2 separate regions of the Homo sapiens genome follow, and region 2 is linked to region 1. Evidence: promoter capture Hi-C in 16 types of primary human blood cells and fetal thymus (Javierre and others, 2016). All regions are on one chromosome and are shown on one strand. The core of a region is centred on a gene start or on the middle of the fragment in contact, and the rest is flanking DNA. Distances in the headings are between cores, read along the strand shown.

Evidence for each region. The method cuts DNA at HindIII sites, captures the fragments that hold promoters and counts their contacts. A CHiCAGO score of 5 or more calls a contact.
Region 2: a contact is called between the fragment with the promoter of LIMA1 here and the fragment with the promoter of AQP5 in region 1, in 6 of 17 cell types (M2 macrophages, M0 macrophages, M1 macrophages and 3 more). The highest score is 9.5, in M2 macrophages.

The regions. Positions count from the first base shown.
Region 1 is chr12:49,960,532-49,963,312 of GRCh38, forward strand. It overlaps AQP5 (aquaporin 5), which reads left to right and starts at 1,341. Exons shown (of 4, transcript NM_001651.4): 1 at 1,341-1,849. The coding sequence starts at 1,487. It overlaps AQP5-AS1 (AQP5 and AQP2 antisense RNA 2), which reads right to left and starts at 2,252. Exons shown (of 3, transcript NR_110591.1): 1 at 2,136-2,252. The HindIII fragment of the contact is 7,065 bases long and covers 1-2,781 here.
Region 2 is chr12:50,282,061-50,284,841 of GRCh38, forward strand. It overlaps LIMA1 (LIM domain and actin binding 1), which reads right to left and starts at 1,460. Exons shown (of 11, transcript NM_016357.5): 1 at 1,360-1,460. LOC107984505 (a long non-coding RNA gene) reads left to right here and starts at 1,561. Exons shown (of 2, transcript XR_001749144.2): 1 at 1,561-1,822. RefSeq lists a silencer at 1,371-1,680. The HindIII fragment of the contact is 1,384 bases long and covers 752-2,135 here.

The sequences.
Region 1 (2,781 bases), core at 91-2,590:
ACAGACAGAAACAAAGAAAGGCACAAAAATTAAGAGGCAGAGGAAAGGTGAAAATAGCCAGGAGACAGAAACTGCAGGATGAGAGAAATGAATAGAGAGAGACAGAGAGACTAAGACAGCAAAAGGCAGGAAGGAAAAACAGAAAATGAGAAGGTGTGAGAGAGAGAGAGATGGAGAGGTGGAGAACAGAGAGACTGAAATGAGAAAGAGACCTCTCGGAGAGAGACCGAGAGGAAGAGGCTGGCAGAGGGAGAGGGTCAGAGACCAAAGACAGAGACAAAAAGAGAAATAGGGTTTTGCAAAGACTGACTGACAGAAACAGATTTCGAGGGGAGAGAGATCAAGACCAAGTGAGGGTTTGAAGGAGACTTAGGGGAGGTGGAGGAAGAGAAGGAGAGTCTTAGATCCAGGGTGAGGGGCTTCTAGCAGGAAGAGGGAAGACGCCAAGACCGCGCTTGGGAGGTCAGTGGTGCGTCTCTACCCCCCCTGCTCCCCCACTCCAACTCCCAGAGTCTCAAGGCCTCACGTCACACCCCCGTCCCGTCCCGTCGACAAGGGGAACCCCGGCCTGGGAGAGGGCGCCTCCGGGGATCCGTTGCCTAGTCCAGGTACTGCCCAGCTACCGGGCGTCGAGGATTGCGAAGCGTCGGGGCAGGCTGGCACGGTGCCCACTTTTCCCAAAACGCCAGCCTTCCAAGCCCAGAAGCTCGCCCGGCCCAGGCCGGGAGCGGCCCACGTCGGACGGCCGGACCGCCCTGCAGGACCCAGCCCGGCCGCCCGCCCCCGCCGCCGGCGGTGAGGGAGGTGAGCGGCGCCGACCTGCGGGACGAGCATCACTCCGACCCAGCCGGGGGTGAGGCGGGTCAGGATGCTCCGGTCGCAGGAGGAAAAGGAGGAGCTGGACCAAAAGCCCGAAGAGAAGAAAAGGGGAAGGCCGCGCACGGAGCGCGGTAAAGGCCGGCGGAGCTAGACGCCCCGAGGTCGGAGTGAAGCGCCGGGACCGAGCCCCGTCTCCCAGGGAGTCCGGGGCGCACGGCACCGAGGAGAGCGCGGGAGCCAACCTGGGCGCATCATGCGCAGGGCCCGGGACGCTGGGCCGGTCTACACCGCCGCCTGGGTCACGTGGCCCGGACGGGCCGGCGGCTGCCCCGGCCGGGGGGCGGGGGTCGCGCCGGGGTTGCGCTGGACGACGGAGAGCGGCGGGCCCGCAGCGGCCTGGAGCCTCCCAACCCGCGCGCCGCGCTGGCCCCCGAGCGTAGGAGCCGCCCCCTGCCCCCCCGCGCCGGCCCCGCGCCCGGCCGCCCGCCCCCTATATAGCGCGCCCCAGCAGGGCCCGCGCCAGGCCGCCAGCCTCGGAGTGGGCGCGGGACAGTGCGCGGCGCCCCGCAGCCAGGCCCCCGCCCCCGCCGCATCCACCTCCTCCGCCGCCTGCGACCCAACGGGCGCCCCCCGCCGCGGCAGCTGCCGCCGGGCCCCCGCGGCCACCATGAAGAAGGAGGTGTGCTCCGTGGCCTTCCTCAAGGCCGTGTTCGCAGAGTTCTTGGCCACCCTCATCTTCGTCTTCTTTGGCCTGGGCTCGGCCCTCAAGTGGCCGTCGGCGCTGCCTACCATCCTGCAGATCGCGCTGGCGTTTGGCCTGGCCATAGGCACGCTGGCCCAGGCCCTGGGACCCGTGAGCGGCGGCCACATCAACCCCGCCATCACCCTGGCCCTCTTGGTGGGCAACCAGATCTCGCTGCTCCGGGCTTTCTTCTACGTGGCGGCCCAGCTGGTGGGCGCCATTGCCGGGGCTGGCATCCTCTACGGTGTGGCACCGCTCAATGCCCGGGGCAATCTGGCCGTCAACGCGGTGAGTGCCCTGGGGGGGGGGTGGGAGCCTCGACCCTGGGGTGGGCTCAGGACCAGGCCTCTTACCCCACCTGGAAAAAAGGGGTGCCGCAGAGTGGGCCAGCCCACACCCTTCACCAGGAAGGCAAGAGCCTCCCAAGGCCAGGAAGGCAACTCTCCAGGCTGATATGTGCTCCCTTCCTGCCCACCTCCTCTCCCCCTCCCCTCATGCTGGCCCACCCTGGTCTCTCTCCAATGCCTGCTACCCCTCCTCTCCTGCCAGAAACTTCTGCCTCCTCCTGTCTCACCTTTGAGCTCCACCTTCCTCCTGGGCCCCTCACCTCTCCCATCACCTCAGTGGAGCGGTTGAGTAGAACCACCAGAGAAAAGCGGGCTGTCATCACGGCTTTGGGTGACCCTGGCCTGTCTGTGCTTCATTGTTCTCAGCGCCTCCATGGGGATGGTTGTGTCTGCCACAGCAGGTGTCAAGGGGCTCACATTTAGAAACCGTAGATAGGAACCCCCTAATGTGGGGCCAGTGCAGAGCAGTTTCTGTTGAGTATTGGTTCCCTCTTTCCCCAACCTGTGCTCCTCCCCTCAACCCCGCACCCCTGCCTCCCTCCCACCTCCTGCAGCCCCAGAGTCAGCCCCCAACCCCATGCAAACTGGGTTCATTAATCAAACACAGAGGAGGATTTGCTTGGCCATTGTCAAGCTGTGAGTCAGCCGCACTGGAGAGACGGGTTTAAGGCTGGCACTGGCATGGGGCCAGGCACGGGCAGGAGGCCGGGATGGGGTGTGAGGCAGGCAAACCGGGCAGCTGCCCACAGGATGGAGGGTAAATGCCAGCTTATGGGGGCTGGGGGTTGGGCAGAGCCATTGATAGGCCCGTGTCCAGGAAAAGCTACCCTGACGCTCTGCCCTTTGGCCACAGGCCTGAGCTTCAAGCCTGTG
Region 2 (2,781 bases), core at 210-2,709, 320 kb after region 1:
ATGTTGTTCTATCAATGCAAAACAAGAAAACATATATGAACACACACTTTTTTTTGCCTTCTTTCACGCCAACTCTATAATTTTTTGAAGATCTATCTAAAACGTGATCATCCTGCACCCAGGTTATACCTCTACAGGAACTTAGAACATGTTGTTAGGGGTCATGTTCTTTTGTGTCTACATCATACCTCAGAAGAAAGGATTGGTGTTATTTCATGGCTCCTGAAATATTTAGCATTTGTGAATAGTATTGGTAACCAAGCAGATAAAAGGTACTGTGTTAAACCATTTAAATCAAGAGCAAAAGAAAGAATACTTAATGCAAAAGAAAACCTCTCCCCAAAATGGGCATTGCCTTAAAAACTGATAACTCCCTAATTACCTTTGACTAACCTGAAAAGTCAAGTCAATTGAACCATCTGGATTAGGCAGATCTGGATTAGGCAGACTTATCTTTTATTTTTATTTATTTATTTATTTTTTTGTAGAGACAAGGGTCTCGCTAAGTTGCCTTGGCTGGTCTCAAACACCTGGGCTCAAGCGATCCTCCCGCCTCAGTTTCCCAAAGTGTTGGGATTATAGGCGTGAGCCACTGCGCCCGTCCAAGGCAGACTTTTGAAAGCTGGAATTAGGTGCAAGACAATAGTAGTTCAAATATCTCTCACCAGGATCAGCTAAACCGTTCTTGCAAGCATCAGTAAGGAGGCTAGGAAGGGTGCCAGATGGTTCGTTCCTAGCAGCTACAACTTCAAGCTTTAGTATGTGTAGCCAGGGGTGTACAATTACCTTACATTAACACCAACATATGTCGGGGGCAAGTGCCAGCGATATATACACGATAGCGATTCGGGGATGACACATCGGCTGCAAGGACTGCTATATTCTCAACATTCCTCAAAAGGGTGTAAGTGTCTTAAACAGAGTTCAGCTGGCGTAATGGAAGGGAGAAAAAATCGAAAAGAGAGGGAATGGCTGAAAATGAAGGAAAAAGAACAGTTGAATATTACAGTATTTCCCTGGAAGGAGGGTATTTGGAGTTTTAATGAATTGTCACCTTCCTCCACCACACCAGAAAGTATACAGTTAGAATGCAGTGTTCTCGGTGGGAGAGGACGGGGTATTTGCAGCTCCCGCCCTTGGGCAGCAAAGGCTCAGCCCGACATAAGCACTCCCCACCCAGCGCAGGCCCCAGAAGTGAGGAAAGAACGGAGGATCAGCGTCCCTCGACCCCTTATCTCGAGGGGGAGGGACTCACACTCCTTGCACTCCCCCCGCCCCAAAAGTCGAAGGAGAAAGAGGGTGTGGAGAGAAGCCGGGGTCTTCCCGCACTCTCCGGTTGTGGAGAGAGAAGGCCCTTACCTGGCTAAAAGCCGCCTTTCCTCTGCGCTGCTACCAGCCCTGTCACAGGTCCCGGCGCTCTACCTAGCGCACCTGTCGCGACCAAGCTGCTAACACCTACTGCTCCTGCGGCCCCGCCCCGGACCCCGCCCACCGCCGCGGGGGCGCGCACGCCAGACAGCCTCCCGTGCGGCCTCGGGCTGAGCGTGCGCGCCACCGGCTACGTGCCCAGCGCTCGCGTCTGCTCCAGTCGCTCTGGCGGTGCGGGGCGCTGGCGACGGGACAGGGTTTTTGCTGCCCGGGGCCTAGTCTACCTCGGCACGCTTTTCTCTGAAGGAGACACGCACTTGCACGACGTGGGCCTCTGTGCAGCTCTACTTTGTCCTTAACTCCTCTGACTCAACGTTATCGCAGTTTGACTCTGGAGCCACTCAGGTTTTTCCTAAGCTCAACTCTAGCCAGCTAGGTTCCTGGTGCTTTGGGGGTAAGTTGTGTGCAGGGAGGGTGTTTTACAGGAGGCTGTGTGGTGTAGTGGAAAAAGCTGAATTAAGTACATTAATCCTGAAAACGGTTTGACAAGGGCAGATGACGTCCAAGTTCTCCAACAGCTGTTTTTACTCCTCCATTCAGAATAGGAGCTGTGCTAATGGTTTGGAGACCGTCAATTGGCCTAGCACTTGGCCATCCTGCCCCCAAATTCTTGTCCCAGTTCCGTGCCAGCTGCATGATGCCTTTTGATAGTATCCTTCTTTCCTGTACCTCAAGCATAGTAGGGTTTCAGACCACAAGTTTTCTGAAGCTTTTCGGAATTCATGCAGCTTGATGCGTTATTAGTAGGGGCTGCTCGTGGGAAAACGCTTGTAATTACACTTCCTCAAGAAGTTAATGAAAATGTGTGAGAAGAGAGATTTCCAACAGGTGATGAATATGCCAGCCAGTTATTCCCTTCTTCCTTCAAATATCCAGCCTAGACTGATTTCTGGATAGGTATTGTAGAAATAAAAATTTCAGACAAAACAAACTTAGATTTTGAATCGGACAACAGTCAGAACCAAAAGAGGCTCAGACACCCCTGCTCTAGCTGCCCAGGCATCAAACTTTATAGGCTGAACACGAAAGTAAAGAAATTTGATTGGCTACAGCTAAGCGTTTGCCTTATTTGGGTATGGTCACATGGGAGGTCCCTAATTATATAACCACTTGGCTGGTTGTCTGTTTGTGATTGGTTGAAACTCCATTCAAAATCAGGTACAAGGGGCCGGGCGCGGTGGCTCACACCTGTAATCCCAGCACTTTGGGAGGCTGAGGCAGGCGGATCCCCTGAGGTTAGGAGTTCGAGACCAGCCTAGCCAACATGGCGAAGCACCGTCTCCACTAAAAATACAAAAATTAGCCGGACGTGGTGGTAAGTGCCTGTAATCCCAGCTACTCGGGAGGCTGAGG